3 separate regions of the Homo sapiens genome follow, and regions 2 and 3 are each linked to region 1. Evidence: promoter capture Hi-C in 16 types of primary human blood cells and fetal thymus (Javierre and others, 2016). All regions are on one chromosome and are shown on one strand. The core of a region is centred on a gene start or on the middle of the fragment in contact, and the rest is flanking DNA. Distances in the headings are between cores, read along the strand shown. Region 1 overlaps ZNF772 (zinc finger protein 772). Region 2 holds the start of C19orf18 (chromosome 19 open reading frame 18). Region 3 holds the start of ZNF587 (zinc finger protein 587).

Region 1 (5,164 bases), core at 756-3,255:
TTGGCTCTCCTGATTGTGGCAGGGGCAGGTGAACTTTGAGGACGTGTTCGTGTACTTCTCCCAGGAGGAGTGGGTGCTCCTTGATGAGGCTCAGAGGCTCCTGTACCGTGATGTGATGCTGGAGAACTTTGCACTTATGGCCTCTCTGGGTAAGGCCGTCACATCCACCCCAGTGACTTGGACTGGGTCCTGCCCTTCCCCTTTTTTTCAGGGCATCTTTGTCCTTCCTACATCAGAGCCGTGGACACTGTCTCATTTCTTAGTGCCTGGAGTAGGTTCTGTGAGTGCTGGGCTTGGGCTGTTTGCACTCCTACTTTCTCCTTTTGAGCATTCCCAGCGCTTGCTGTCTCAGAGCCTTGCAGGCATGGATTCAGGAGTTATGCATTGTATTGTCAGCCCAGTGGGTCATATCCATCTTGTCCTTTCCCTGTCTGAATTCCTCTGTCTGTATCCATGACACCTCTGTGCCTGGGATTCTGCGCTCTTCCTTTAGCTGACATTTCCTGTGGCCTGCCTATGTCAGGAATTGTAGGGACCATTATGGTCGCTACTTGCTAGGACCACTGCACTATTCCTGCAAGACCTTACTCTGAGATTATTTTAATAATATTTAGTTTTCTATATGGGTTACCCAGACCAGTGCTGTTCTATCTTTCCCTTAGGACATACATCTTTCATGTCCCACATAGTTGCCTCACTGGTGATGGGTAGTGAGCCCTGGGTACCTGACTGGGTGGACATGACCCTAGCTGTTGCCACAGAGACTCCAGGTGGGAGTGACCCTGGTGAGTAGGAGCTGGGGAAAGGTGTGATGTCAGGGCTGGGTTCATATCATTCCATAGCCTCTTTGTGCCTACAGTTGTATTAGTGCTAAGGCCACTGGCCTTTCATACTCTGGCCTTTGGCCTCTGGATGTTCCATACCTCTGCCTTCATGTCTCACCTGTTCCTCTCCATGGCTTGTTCTACAGTGCCTTCCAGCATTGGCCTGTACTTAGTGTTTCATGAGATGTGTAGCCCAAATAGTCCTTAAACACCAACTACTGAGTAGCAATTTGATTTTCTTTGGTATGGACCATAACCTTCTGCACAACTCTCACCTGTCCCCAGCAGCCAAGAAAATCTGATTGTGAATGACTTTGAGACCTGCCTCTTTTTTGTGCTGTACCCCACATCTTTGTCCTCTCCCAGTTGAGGCCTTCTCCATTCTATGACATTTAGATGCCAACTACCGTATAGTACACATTTGCTGAACTTGAGTTTGGACCCTTGTCCTAACAACAGTCCTATGACCTTGGTCTTAGTTGTGTTAGACACATATTTGTAGTGAGGCTTCCCCTCTTCCACCTGTGTCAATTTGTACTTCACCAGCATTTCTCTGCTTTCAGGTTGTTGGCATGGAATGGAGGATGAAGAGATACCTTTTGAGCAGAGCTTTTCTATAGGAATGTCACAGATCAGGATTCCCAAGGGAGGTCCTTCTACTCAGAAGGCTTACCCCTGTGGGACATGTGGCCTGGTCTTAAAAGACATTTTGCACTTGGCTGAGCACCAGGAAACACACCCAGGGCAGAAACCATACATGTGTGTGCTGTGTGGGAAACAGTTCTGCTTCAGTGCAAACCTTCACCAGCACCAGAAGCAGCACAGTGGAGAGAAACCCTTTAGAAGTGATAAGAGCAGGCCCTTTCTTCTGAACAACTGTGCTGTGCAATCAATGGAGATGTCTTTTGTGACAGGGGAGGCTTGTAAGGACTTCCTAGCCAGCTCAAGCATTTTCGAGCACCATGCCCCTCACAATGAGTGGAAGCCACACAGCAACACCAAGTGTGAGGAGGCCTCTCACTGTGGAAAAAGGCATTACAAATGCAGTGAATGTGGGAAAACCTTCAGCCGCAAAGACTCACTTGTTCAACACCAGAGAGTCCACACTGGAGAAAGGCCTTATGAGTGCGGTGAATGTGGGAAAACCTTTAGCCGCAAACCCATACTTGCTCAGCACCAGAGAATCCACACTGGAGAAATGCCTTATGAGTGTGGCATATGTGGGAAAGTTTTTAATCATAGCTCTAACCTTATTGTACATCAAAGAGTACACACTGGAGCAAGGCCTTACAAGTGCAGTGAATGTGGGAAAGCCTATAGTCACAAATCTACACTTGTTCAGCATGAGAGTATCCATACTGGAGAAAGGCCATATGAGTGCAGCGAATGTGGAAAATACTTTGGTCACAAATACAGACTCATTAAACATTGGAGTGTTCATACTGGAGCAAGGCCTTATGAGTGCATCGCATGTGGGAAGTTCTTTAGCCAAAGCTCTGACCTTATTGCACATCAAAGAGTTCATAATGGTGAAAAGCCTTATGTGTGCAGTGAATGTGGAAAAGCCTTTAGCCACAAACATGTACTTGTTCAGCATCATAGAATTCACACTGGAGAAAGGCCATATAAGTGCAGTGAATGTGGGAAGGCCTTCAGGCAGAGGGCTTCCCTCATCCGCCACTGGAAAATTCACACTGGAGAAAGGCCTTAGGATGGGAGATAATTCCGTTTCCTTGTTCAACATAATAACTGACATCAGAGAGAAGCTCCAAGCATAGCCTTTATGTGTAGCCGACAGCCAGAAGTAGAACTTTATACACTCAAACACTCACCCTGGGGAGGTTCTTCCGAGTGCCAGCTATATGGGAAGCCTTCTGGAGCTATGCTGAATTTTCTAGACTCTTGCTGGAATTTCGTCAAGGCAGTGCCTGTTAGAAGCCATCTGTCTTTGTGCTGGAAGAGTCCTGCCTTGTGCCAAAGTAACCCCAATGTGTTTCAAAAGACAGACCTCTGTACTATTCCCTTCCCTGGAGGGAATCATCAGTAGCCTGAGGCCATCAAGGATTCTCACTTTTTTTCTGCCCCACTACTGGTTTAAGCATGAGCATGACCCAGTTTTAGCCAGAAAAATGGGAGCTTTGTTCTGCTGACCACTGGCAGAGGTTTCCCTTCATGGATATAGTTGATCTCACATGGCACTTGGGACGAATTTTTCTAGCCTTCAAGACACCTGACCTGAAATTGGCTGCCTCATATTCTGGTTTTGCAACAAATGCCTTAATTTTTAGACTATCTGAAATCTTGAGGATTCTGTTCGCTTTGTGGGTTGGGTTGAGAACAGAATTGAGCTAAGCCAGTATGAAGGGAAGAACAGCTTTTGTGAGAGCTCCAACTATCTGTATCTCTGAAGTGATAGTAGGATGGCAAAGACTAGCTCTTATGCTAGTGTCAAGCTAACTTACTTGACTGCTTCAGCTCTCCTAGGAAAGAATGCCAGTCTTTGTAGGCCTAATCTTTTGGTCTATATGTTAAGATTTTTTGTGTAATTGAGGTCACCCTAAGCAGTGGGCATTTGTTGTGATAATCTCTAATGTGTCTGGGAGCAACATGAATTACGTCCCTTGTTCCCAGAAGATACTTCATATTCCCAAGGCTTCTTGAGGAGAATTTGAACTCAGTGGACATGTCAAGATCTCTGAAGTCTATTTTTCAGTAGGCAGTTGATATTGGCTGTCCTCCAGAAGGCCCAGGTAGGAATCATAGTTGGTGCAGAAACCCAGATTAATAAAGGAATGAGAAAACTGCAGCAAACTATAGGGAATATGACCCTTCTAAAGGTACATCCACATGTGTTTCCATTACTCTGGCTCCATTATGAGGGTTTACAGAAATATTTCCATACCTGTGTCTCTTATGGCTAAGGTTACTGTCCAGAAGTCAGTCTAAACATTTTTGCAATAAACTGCACATATTTATAGTGTACCATTTGATAAGTTTTGATACATGTTGGCACTTCTCAAACCAAAAGTTTCCTGATTCCTTTTATATTTTCTCCCTTTCCTTCACCCATCCCCAGGCAACTATTGATCCGTTGTCACTGTAGATTTGTTTGTATTTCCTAGAATTCTACAGAGATAGAGTAATTTAATATGTATTCTAATGTTTTTGGCTTCTTAAACTCTGAAATTAAGGCTCATGGTGGTGTTCTGTGTTTCATAGTTCATTTCTTTTCATTTGTACTTTGCTAAGAGTGTTCCATTGTAGAGAAATAGTTTCAAAGCAAGTGATCCAGGAGAGAACTCACACAAGAACAAAGCCACAGTATCTGTCATTACCTTAAACTGAAAGTGATGAGCCGTCATTTCTGCTATATTTCATAAGTAACCCTAGCTAATCCTGGTTAAAAGTGGAAGAGAACTACACAAAGGTGAAAATAGGGATTTGTGGGGCGTTTTCTTGGACTCTGGTGACCATAATCCTATATGGTTTTTTTCTTTTTCTGTTTTAGTTGTTTAATATGAATTACATTGACTGATTTTTTTAAATGTTAAGCCAACCTTGCATTTCTGTAATAATTCCCATTTGGTCATGATGTATTAGTCATTTAGTATATTGTTGAATTTGATTTGCTATTTTGTTTTGTTTTGTTTTGTTTTTTTGTAACAAGTTTTGCACCAATGTTCACGAGTGATATTTGTCCCTAACTTTCTTTCTTGCTTGCTTGCTTTTTTTTCTTTGTAATTTTATATCTTGCCCAGGTTTGGCTTTGGTATCAGCATAATGCCAGCTTTATAGAGTAAGTTGGGAAGTATTCCTGCTCTTCAGCTCTCTGGAAGAGTTTGTGAATAATTGGTATTATTTCTTCCTTAAATGTTTGGTAGAATTCACCAAGGAAGCTGTCTGGGCCTGGAGTTTGTTTTGTAGGAAAGTTTCTAACTATAAGTTTGATTTCTGTGGTAGATAGAGGGCTGTACAAGTTATATGTACATCTGTCTGTGTGTGTGTTGTCTGTCTGTCACTCTGGCCCTGAAGTGTGTTTTGTAGGACAGCATCTAACTACAAGTTTGATTTCCATGGTAGATGGAGGGCTATACTAGTTATATATACATCTGTCTGTCCGTCCATCTGTTTGTCACTCCATCCATCCATCTATCTCTAGAGTGAGCTTTGATGGTTTGTGTCTTTCAAGGAGTTTTTCTGTTTTATTTAAGTACTCAAATTTTTCAAAATATTATTTTCATACTTGTAGAATTTGTAGTGGTGCAACCTCTTCTATTCCTGATACTGGTAATGTCTATATTTTTCTTTTAACCTTGATTGGTTTGGGTAGAGATTTATCA
Region 2 (5,164 bases), core at 1,605-4,104, 500 kb before region 1:
TACAAATACATATAACACTTATGTGCTGGGCTTTCTTTTAAATGCTTTCCAAGTGTTAACTTGTTTAGTCCCCTTTACTCTGAGATAGGTACTGTTACCCCAGTTTTACAAATGGCTAAGCTGAAGCAGAGATGTTGAAGGATCCTACCTAAGGGGCACAACTAGTAAGGGAGTAGAGCTGAGATTGGCTCCAGAGTTCTTGTTTTCAGCCACCATTTTATGCTGCCTCTCCAGTGATTTTTTTTCCCATTTTCTTCAGTGTTTCTATAGCAGAGATTTGATAATAAAAAGAAAATCCTAAACAATGAGAAATAAAGTTACCTGGTTTCTCTGTCTCGAAGGATTTATAGTAACATGAGAACTAGTATCCCTTTGGAATATGAAGTCTGTGTTGGACATTCAGAATCACTGCATTTTCTGGGACCTGAGTTCCCTAGAACTTTGCTGCCTGCAACCCCAAGGATAACAGGGCAGCAGGGCCTGGAGGACTTGCTGGAGGACTGGGCAAGTCCCTTGGTGGGTTTAGAATGCCACTTACAGAGCAGAGGGCAGGGGTGTTTGTTCCTTTCCATAACTAGACACCACTGCACTTCAGAGCACCATTACCCAAGGTTTACCTTGAATTCGGTCTTTTATTTTTTTGAAATCTTCTGCAGATGAAAGGCTTACTTGAAGGAGCAGGATTCAGAAGGGAAGAGAGCTAGCCAGTCCACCTAGAGTAATGAAGTCTCAGTGTTCACAGGGGAAAAGGGGAAAGATGGATCAGAAGACTTGGGTGGCTTCTCTCCAGTTCATAAGTATTTCTAAAACTGGGGGCCAAGGATCCTTCCTGGATAGGCTTCAAGGGTATTGAGTGGAACTTGGGCTCATAAAGCTCATCTAATTTTTAAAGGGCCCATGGCTTCCCAGTGGTTGAGAAATGATGGCCTAGTGATGTCATTGGGAGGCTGTTATTTTCACCTTCTGACTCTTCTAGCTTGGGCTCACTTAGGTGTGTAACATTTGATTGTAGTCCTTTCAAGGCCTGACACATTAGTGGTCACCTGATAAATGTGGCAGGGGCAAGTTAGTTATTGATGGATTTTTTTTTTACATGATTTGTGCAAAGGCCCTTGGAGAGAATGAAGTTAGCAGTATTATCTCATCTTGGAGAAAGCAGCATAATATATCCAGAATCATACTACCAGTAGGATGTGGATATTGTATTCTAATAGCCAGAGTGAATCCAAATTATCTGATTTAGAGATTCCAAAGGATTTCATAAGTCATATGCAATATACCACAAGCATCCTGGTAACTTATAACCTTATTACTAAGATTATTATCTTGAAAAAATTTCTAGGCCGGGCACCGAGGCTCATGCCAGCATTTTGGGAGGGACAGGAGGATTGCTTGAGCTGAGGAGTTCAAGGCCAGCCTTGCAACGTAGCAAGATCCCATCTCTGTTTAAACAGATAAGAGTTTTTTTAATGTCTTAAAGGGCCTCCTGGCAGGGCACAGTGGCTCACTCCTGTCACCCCAGCACTTTGGGAGGCCAAGGTGGGTGAATCATGAGATCAGGAGTTCGAGACTGGCCTGGCCGCCAACATGGTGAAAGCCCATCTCTACTAAAAATACAAAAATTAGCTGGGTGTGGTGGCAGATGCCTGTAATCCCAGCGGTTCCAGAGGCTGAGGCAGGAGAATCGTTTGAACCCAGGAGGTGGAGGTTGCAGTGAGCCAAGATTGTGCCACTGCACTCCAGTGTGGGTGACAGGGCAAGACTCCATCTCAAAAAAAAAAAAAAAAAAAAAAAAGGGCCTCCTGTTGGTCAGGTCACATCACGAGTCAAAAGAAAGTCCCAGACTTCTGCTTCTTCCTGGAAGTATTCCCTTCCTCTCACCTATCATGCACAGCCTGGACAGTATTGATTTCAGTGGTCCCTAACATCCAGCACTCCCAGGTCCCCTCTGTCTCCCTCATACATGACATAGTTCATTGCCTTTTTTGAGCCCGTCTTCTATTCCTCCCATCTCTGAAGCCTAGGGCCCACTTTCAGTCATCAGGAGTCCCCCTTTACCTTCCTGCTGTGGGTCTCCCCTGTGCACATTGCCTCCCTTCTAAGGGTGACTGCTTTCCTTCCACTTTCTTTTCTTTCTTTCTTTGTGCAGTGGTACGATTTTGGCTCACTGCTACCTCTGCCTTCTGGGCTCAAGTGATCTTCCTGCCTCAGCCTCCCGAGTATCTGGGACTACAGGTACACGCCACCATGCCTGGCTAGTTTTTGTTTTTGTGTTTGTTGTTTTATTTTTTTGAGACAGAGTCTTGCTCTGTCGCCCAGGCTGGAGTGCAGTGGCATGATCTCAGCTCACTGCAACCTCCACCTCCTGGGTTCAAGTGATTCTCATGCCTCAGCCTCCCAAGTAGCTTGAACTACAGGTGTGCACCACCACGCCCAGCAAATTTTTGTATTTTTAGTAGAGATGGGCTTTCACTGTGTTGGCCAGGCTGGTCTTGAACTCCTGGCCTCAAGCGATCTGCCCACCTTGACCTCCTAAAGTGTTGGGATCATAGGCGTGAGCCACCGTGCCCATTCCTTTTTTCCTGAACATTTTCCAAGTGAGGTTGTTGGAAATCACGGATGGGGAACTATGCATGCGGAGGGCTGACTGTAATTGATTTCTTTCTGCCTCCTCACTAATCTGCACACTGCAGGCAGGGACCTGGTCTCATCATGCCTGCACCTCCAAGCACTGCCCTCTTACACTGTAGTCTCCCCATTGGTCAGCATGGTTCCATGAAGGAACTCCATTATCACAGCAAGGACTGACCTCACACTGGTGGCTCCAAGTCACTGCCCAAACATTCTGAAGGGAGTAGAACTTCTTGATTCCTCAGATAAATAGAGGACAGATGCTGGACTGTAGCTAAGTATTTCCTTTCATCTACGGGATAAAATACTGATAATTTGAGAGTGATGGACAAGGTTCAGAGTGGTTTCCTCATTTTGTTTTTGTTTTTAATGGAATGCCAACTTCATTTATGCTTGCCGTATGCAGATGGACTCCATCCCACTGGAAACATAACAGGCTTACCAGGTAGCTTCAACCACTGGTTTTATGTGACTCAGGGAGAATTGAAAAGCTGTTTCAGGGGAGATAAAAAGAAGGTAATTACATTTCACCGCAAAAAGTTTTCTTTTCAAGGCAGTAAACGGTCACAACCACCCAGAAACATCACCAAAGAGCCCAAAGTGTTCTTTCATAAAACCCAGTTGCCTGGGATTCAAGGGGCTGCCTCGAGATCCACGGGTGAGTCATTGAATTCCTCATTCAGTGGAGTGAGAATCGTAGCCTGGAGTCCTCTTATCTGCCATGTGAATGTGTACTGTGTGCTTGCTGGTAGAAAGGTCCATAAAATAGAGTATAATTAGATAAACATTTGCTTGGAAATTAGATCTTATGCTCTTCACTCTCTGTTAACTGCTTTCTCTTTAGGGATTGCCACTTTCTTCTCTTTTTCATTTCACTTTAATAAGCGCACACAAAAACCTTGATCCCATCCAGATTACACAGGTATGCCTGTCTGACTTGAATTTGGTGCACATTTGGCAGTAGAGCATGCAAGTCTAGACACAGAAGGTTTGTGAGTGTACAGAATTCTTTTTTTTCTTTTTTTTTTTTTTGAGACAGAGTCTTGCTCTGTCGCCCAGGCTGGAGTGCAGTGGCGCGATCTCGGCTCACTGCAAGCTCCACCTCCTGGGTTCACACCATTCTCCTGCCTCAGCCTCCCAAGTAGCTGGGACTACAGGCACCCGCCACCACGCCAAGCTAATTTTTTGTATTTTTAGTAGAGACAGGGTTTCACTGTGTTAGCCAGGATGGTCTTGATCTCCTGACCTCATGATCCGCCCGCCTCGGCCTCTCAAAGTGCTGGGATTACAGGCATGAGCCACCATGCCCAGCCGAGAATTCTTTATAAGCATTTTCTATGGTTCCCTTCTAATTTGAGTACTAGAGGATGTTTGTTTATCTTATAACAGCAAAACCAACCCCGACAATCTTTGAAGCTCAGCAACCCTTTGTGGAGATATATGATGCTTGTAAATAATCTCCATTCCATGCAAGGGAAATGCTGTCTGTGTGATACATTTGCATGTAATTTGTGTCCGAGGAAAGGACACTATTGTTGGTTCCCTGGCCTCTCTGCCTGGCTCTCTGATCCTTTTTTTTTTTTTTTTTTTTTTTTTTTTTTTTTTTTTTTTGAGACGGAGTCTCACTCTGTCACCCAGCTGGAGTGCAGTGGCGCAATCTCGGCTCACCACAACCTCCACCGCCGGGTTCAAGCAATTCTCCTGCCTCAGCCTCCTGAGTAGCTGGGACTACAGGCGCGTGCCACCATGCCCAGCTAATTTTTGTATTTTCAGTAGAGACGGGGTTTCACCATGTTGGTCAGGCTGGTCTCGAACTCCTGACCTCGTGATCTGCCTTCCTCGCTGGGATTACAGGCATGAGCCACTGTGCCCAACCCTTGCTGACCTTCTAATGAGGTCGTAGCCCCTTCAACTCTAAGTCTCTCCAGGTCCTTAATTTGGGCAGAGATTTCCCAACTTGTATGACTGCAAAAGGAGACCAGAAACCAAAAGTATCCTGTTCCTAAAGGTCATTCTTCATGACAGGAAGCACCAGGTGCAAAAAGAACAGCAGGCTCACCAGGCTTCTGCAAATTAACCCACACATTGCTGCCAGGCATTGGGAGGAATGTATTAACACATCCCATCTTAGATATTTGGAAGCTGTGTGTTCGGCGTCCTTCTCTAATGCTAAGTTATTTCCTTGTTTTCCCAAGTTCATCTTAAACCATCTTAAAGTCTCTTCTTTTTGATCCCCTTTGATGGCCTTTTAGCTGCATCCCCTACGAACCCCATGAAATTCCTGAGGAATAAAGGTAAGCCAAGGGATCTGGGAGGGCGGGTGGACCCGCAACATTCCTGAAGCTGTCGTGATGTGTGGCTCCAGAGGGTGCTGGCTGGTCACCAAGGAGCCTGCACACGTGGTGCCTTCATGTGTGTTAGACAAGGTGCCCCCTCTGGAGGGGGATGCGCAGTGACACCGCTTGGGGCAGGTGAGAAGGTGGCTCAACTCCACGGGCTGATGTTGTAGTGAGTAGAGCACAGGCTGTGTCTG
Region 3 (5,164 bases), core at 1,368-3,867, 380 kb before region 1:
TTACCACTTATCTGATCCATTAACCCTCACCTGGATTATGGCAGGAGCCTTATCTCTGACCTTTCTTCCTCTTCCCTCAACCCACAGTCTATGCAACAAGGTCCAGCCAGATGAAGCCTGTAGCCAGGTAGAACTGTGGTAATATCACCTCCTGACTTTGATCCGTTTTATCTCTAAGCATTTCACAACCTGGTAGCAAATCCTGGGTTAATCTTACAAGGGTGTTTACATTGGTTGACAGAAATGGGAATACCTCCATATAACCTGTCATGGACTTGGTATCCTGGCTTCAGAGATTCTCCAGGGTCCTCGGATCAAAGGACTGAAAAAAATGGCACTTAAGAGTCCCAGGACACCACAAGCTAGAGAACCTGTAGATGGCGTCAGGACCAATGAGGGAATGGAACACCCTCCACTTCCCTGTGTGGGTTCCCTAAGTGCTTCTGCAGCCAGGAGTGCCTGAGGGGAAAGGCAGACATTACAAACATGTCACAGGATTTGATAAGCTCAGGACTCCCTGAACCCTTTCTTGTCCCTGGAACCAGGTAACCCTAAGGCTGGTTGTCTGACCTGCTTTTCTCAGTGCAAAATGTCATCTCTACCATCTATGTGATCTACAAAACGGATTCAACCTCCCAAGGCCCCAAAGTCCTCATCCTCTCTCTCTATGATGTTCTTCCTTTGATTGGCCTTTGGGAAACTTCTTAAAAGCCTGGATTTGGATCATGTCCCTCCTTTCTTCAAAACTCTCCATGGCTTCTAGAATCCTCATGATGAATGCACAGCCCCTGGCCTGCTTGCTCTACCAGGAAGAGCTCCATCTCACACGTTGTTCCTGACAGATGCCTGTGAACCCCAGGTTCCATCCTTCCAGCTCTGTCCATCTGCAGGCCATTGCCTGCACCCCTACCTGTGCCTGTCACTCTCCCCACTGCATCCCACTGGTGTCAGAAACAGGTGAAACCGACTTTGCAAAATTATAACTGACGAAATTATGACAGTGAAAGAAATCAGACCTAACCGACTCCATCTTGCTTCCAACCTTTCAGCCGTCTTTTTTCATTCCTGGGCATAGGCTGAATTAACTTTGGAAAAGAATTCAGTTCATGGTTTCACTCTGAAACAAAATTGATAATAGCCCTTTCCTGAAAAGACCCCTTTCTTGCCTGGGGACCAGCCTGTCTTTGCAGGACTAACAAATTAGCTACAAGAATAGAAATTACGGTTTAGGGGTCATGCAGCTTCTGGCTCCAAGAGTCTGAACCTCCCCAAGTTGCTCCTGAAGATAACCTTACTATTGTAAAACCTAATGTGAGTTTCTGGGGTGCTAGTTGAGTTGGTCTCCCCTGTGTGAGACACCCATGGGAAGCCATGGGCGGCCTCTGAGGAGAAAAGTCTCCTTATTGCCTTCATGTCTTTATGCCCCGAGAGCATAACTCTTCAGCAGCATTCCATGGGTTGCTCAGGGAGATCACACTCCCTTGAAGCAGTGGAGCATAATCAAACATCTTGGCTCCTCCTGAAACCCGCAGCCACCCGTTTCAGTTAAGTTAAAGATCTTAAGTAGTTTAGACACACGCCTTTGTTCAAGGAAATTCACAGAAACGGCCAGTGCTTTACATCTTATGGAATGACTCACGAGTTCTCCTTTACTGATTAATCCTTTTCCTGATCGCTTCCTCCCCCTCCAATCAGCCATAAGAACAAAGAGCTTGTAAACCAATAAACTGGGTGGAGCCCAAGAGCTCTGGGCCGCCAGGAAGCCTCCAATGCTCTGGCCACCTGGACCCGCCTTTTAAATGCGTATTCTGTCTCTTTCTAACTCCTTTGTCTCCGCAGGACTCGGGGTATCTGCTGGGTGGTGTGGGGCTGGTTTCCCCAATATCTAAGATCAGTGCTTGGGGCATTTTGCAGATCCTGCACTGGATGGATCAGCGGACAACACACAGACCGGTAATCTGGGTCAATCAGTTCTGCCATCCCACCCAGAACAGAAAACAGCATGAAAAACTCACTTTAACCCCCTATGAATCCATCTCCAACCAGACTGATCAGCACTCCCCACTTCCCAAGCCCCTACCCGCCAAATTTTGAAAACTCTGATCCCAGAATGCTCAGGGAGACTGATTTGAATAATAAAACTCCTGTCTCCCGAACAGCAGGACGGCTCTGCGTGAATTACTATTTCTCCATCGCAATTCCCCAGTCTTCATAAATCGGCTCTGTCTAGGCAGCTGGCAACGTGAACCCACTGGACGGTTACAAGGAGAGGCCTCCTGTGAGCGCCTCAGTGTTCCTACGCCGGGTACCGGCTACAGACCCACGAGCAGGAGCCGCTCCCTCGCTGGTTTAGGACCTGGGTGACGATGGGGTGACCTGAGGGCACAGAAGGCACCACAATTACCTGAGTTGGGCGCCTCGGCACAGCCGCTGCCATCGGACTACTTGGGGAAGCACGGCCCGGGAGCAGTGGTCGCCGTCACGGGGCTGCAGAGCCGCCTCTGGGCACCGAGGACGATTCCTCTCCACCTTCTAGGTTCAGTCACCGCGGTCCCACCCAGCACTCAGGGGCCACAAACTGGGGAAACACCCGCATCGCCGATACACAGCCGCTACTAGAGACCCCGGAAGTCTCGGCCTTACGTTACGTGCACACGTGGAAATGCCTTCTTTCCGAGTGCTCACTGGCTCTGACCGGCTGTCGTTTAAAGCAGAGCTTTCTGGGTAATGTAGTTCCCCACTTTCCATGACACAACATGGTTACCAGGTTCTGAAATGTTCATGGCTCAGATGCACCTCCAAGCCTTTGTACCTATTGGTTCCTCTACCTGTATTACTCTAGCTGGGGTGAAGCCTGTAATACACAGCATTTACCTGAGCTAGGTCCCTCAGTGTGGCTGCTGCCATCAACTGTGGGTGGAGCAGGCATCACCCCAGCCAGTGCCTATGAGCCTCAGACCTGCCACTTGGGAGCAGAGATGACTACTCCTCTTGTGCCTTCTCAGTCCCAACCCAGTACTCCCTGGCCTGACAAGCATGCCCAGAAATCCCTCATCCTGGGCCTTGCAACTAGCGCCTTCTGGGTAAAGTACTTCCCAGAGCTCTCAGCCAACAATGGTGGTATCCTCCAAGAGCAAACCGAATGCAGACCATGTTACATTCTGAGGGCTGCTGGAAAGCCCTGCTCACACCTCAAAGGAGGAAGATTATTGATTCTTTGTAAAAGCATCAAATAGGTATCACATCAGACTCTAGGAAGCTCATCCTGCACCCAGAGAATAAAAATACTATTTGAGATGCTCCCAAACTTTACTTATCTAAGTGGCCATATCATTGGCATCATTCAGACTTACAATGTGTGCACTCAGAGCTGAGAACATTAAGTATTGATTGCTCTTTAAATTCACGTAGACTGAATCATTACAGTCAGTTTTGCGAGTTTCATTGTTTTGTTGGGAACAAAAGAAAATTCTCCATAAGACATGATGACAGGATGGGTACAAAAAACAGTGAGCAAAAATGAATAAGACCTAATATTTGCTACCATAACAGGGTGGCTATAGTCAAAATAATTTAATTATATATTTAAAAATAACTAAAAGAGTATAACTGGACTGTTTATAATACAGAGGATAAATGTTGAGGTGACTGAGACCCCATTTACCCTATGTGATTATCACATATGGCATGGCTACATCAAAATATCTAATGTAATCTACAAATATATACACTACTATATACCCACAAAAAATAAAAATAAAGGCCAGACATGGTGGCTCACACCTGTAATCCCAGCACTTTGGGAGGCCAAGGCAGGTGGATCACCTGAGGTCGGGAGTTCGAGACCAGCCTGGCCAACATGGAGAAACCGTGTCTCTACTGAAAGTACAAAATTTTCCAGGCATGGTGCTGCATGCCTCCAATTCCAGCTACTCGGGAGGCTGAGGTAGGAGAATTACTTGAACCCTGGAGGTGGAGGTTGCGATGAGTCGAGATCATGCCATTGCACTCCAGCCTGGGCAACAGGAGTGAGACTCTGTCTCAAAAAAAATAAAAAATAAAAAATAAATAAATTGCTGGGTGCAGTGGCTCATGCCTATAATCCCAACACTTTGGGAGGCTGAGTCAGGTGGATCATGAGGTCAGGAGTTCGAGACCAGCCTGACCAATATGGTGAAACCCCATCTCTAATAAAAATAAAAAAATTAGCCGGGCACGGTTGCTCACGCCTGTAATCCCAGCACTTTGGGAGGCCGAGGTGGACAGATCATGAAGTCAGGAGATCAAGACCATCCTGGCTAACACAGCAAAACCCATGTTAAAAAAATTGCTGGGCATGGTGGCAGACACCTGTAGTCCCAGCTACTCGGGAGGCTGAGGCAGGAGAATCGCCTGAACTCTGGAGGCAGAGGTTGCAATGAGCTGAGATCGCATGACTGCACTCCAGCCTGGCGACAGAGCTAGACTCCGTCTCAAAAAAATAAAATAATAATAAAGATCTAATGACAGGGAAATAGACGGATGTTGGTACACCCTGAAGCAGGTAGTGAAGCTGGCAGTTGGCCACTGGTTCCCACAGAAAATTGCTCTAGTGATGCTAGCAAATCCCAAAATTGGGGCTCAATCCAGGAGGGTTCCTGGCTTCATAAAGGAAATAATTCAAGAGCAAGCCAAGAGTGTAAAGTGAAGGCAAAGCAAGTTTATGAGAGCAAGAGAACAGGAAAATGGCTGCTCCACAGACAGAGCAGGGCTACTCCACAGGCAAAGTAGCACCCGTGGATTGTTGGCTAGCTATATTTATAGCTACTCCTTAATTATGTGCTAAATAAGAGGTGGGTTATTCATGAATTTTCTAGAAAAAGAGTGGGGAGTTCCCAGAACCAGGGGTTCCTTCTCTTTTAAACTACATGAGGTAGCTTCTGGGCATTGCCATAGCATTTGTAAACGGCCATGGTGCTGGTGGGAGTGTCTTTTAGCATGCTAATACATTATAATGAGCATATAATGAGCAGTGAGGCAATGAGGGTAACTAGAGTTCATATTCTTGCCATCTTAGTTTTACTGCTTTCAGCTGGTTTCTTTAGTGCATCCTGTTTTGACCAGATCCTGTTTCATCATGAGCAGGGTCATGACCAGTGCTCAGAACACAAGTCCTGCTGATCTA

Evidence for each region. The method cuts DNA at HindIII sites, captures the fragments that hold promoters and counts their contacts. A CHiCAGO score of 5 or more calls a contact.
Region 2: a contact is called between the fragment with the promoter of C19orf18 here and a fragment that was not itself captured in region 1, in 3 of 17 cell types (M2 macrophages, fetal thymus and erythroblasts). The highest score is 6.7, in M2 macrophages.
Region 3: the fragment with the promoter of ZNF587 here is called in contact with a fragment that was not itself captured in region 1 in 3 of 17 cell types (naive CD4 T cells, non-activated CD4 T cells and total CD8 T cells); the score reaches 6.9 in naive CD4 T cells.

Annotation. Positions count from the first base shown.
Region 1 is chr19:57,470,645-57,475,808 of GRCh38, reverse strand. It overlaps ZNF772 (zinc finger protein 772), which reads left to right. Exons shown (of 4, transcript NM_001144068.2): 3 at 23-149; 4 at 1,388-5,164. The coding sequence ends at 2,535. Among named protein-coding and RNA genes, the nearest start is that of ZNF772, 4.3 kb to the left of the region's middle. The HindIII fragment of the contact is 6,834 bases long and covers 1-5,164 here.
Region 2 is chr19:57,972,224-57,977,387 of GRCh38, reverse strand. It overlaps C19orf18 (chromosome 19 open reading frame 18), which reads left to right and starts at 2,854. Exons shown (of 6, transcript NM_152474.5): 1 at 2,854-3,076; 2 at 3,185-3,289; 3 at 4,884-4,925. The coding sequence starts at 2,956. It overlaps ZNF606 (zinc finger protein 606), which reads left to right. Exons shown (of 7, transcript NM_001348022.3): 7 at 1-312. The HindIII fragment of the contact is 7,599 bases long and covers 1-5,164 here.
Region 3 is chr19:57,847,312-57,852,475 of GRCh38, reverse strand. ZNF587 (zinc finger protein 587) reads right to left here and starts at 2,617. Exons shown (of 3, transcript NM_032828.4): 1 at 2,405-2,617. The coding sequence starts at 2,437. LOC124904782 (a long non-coding RNA gene) reads left to right here. Exons shown (of 2, transcript XR_007067358.1): 2 at 1,915-2,161. RefSeq lists enhancers at 976-2,175, 2,230-2,319, 2,370-2,609, 2,780-2,839, 2,910-3,019. The HindIII fragment of the contact is 27,837 bases long and covers 1-5,164 here.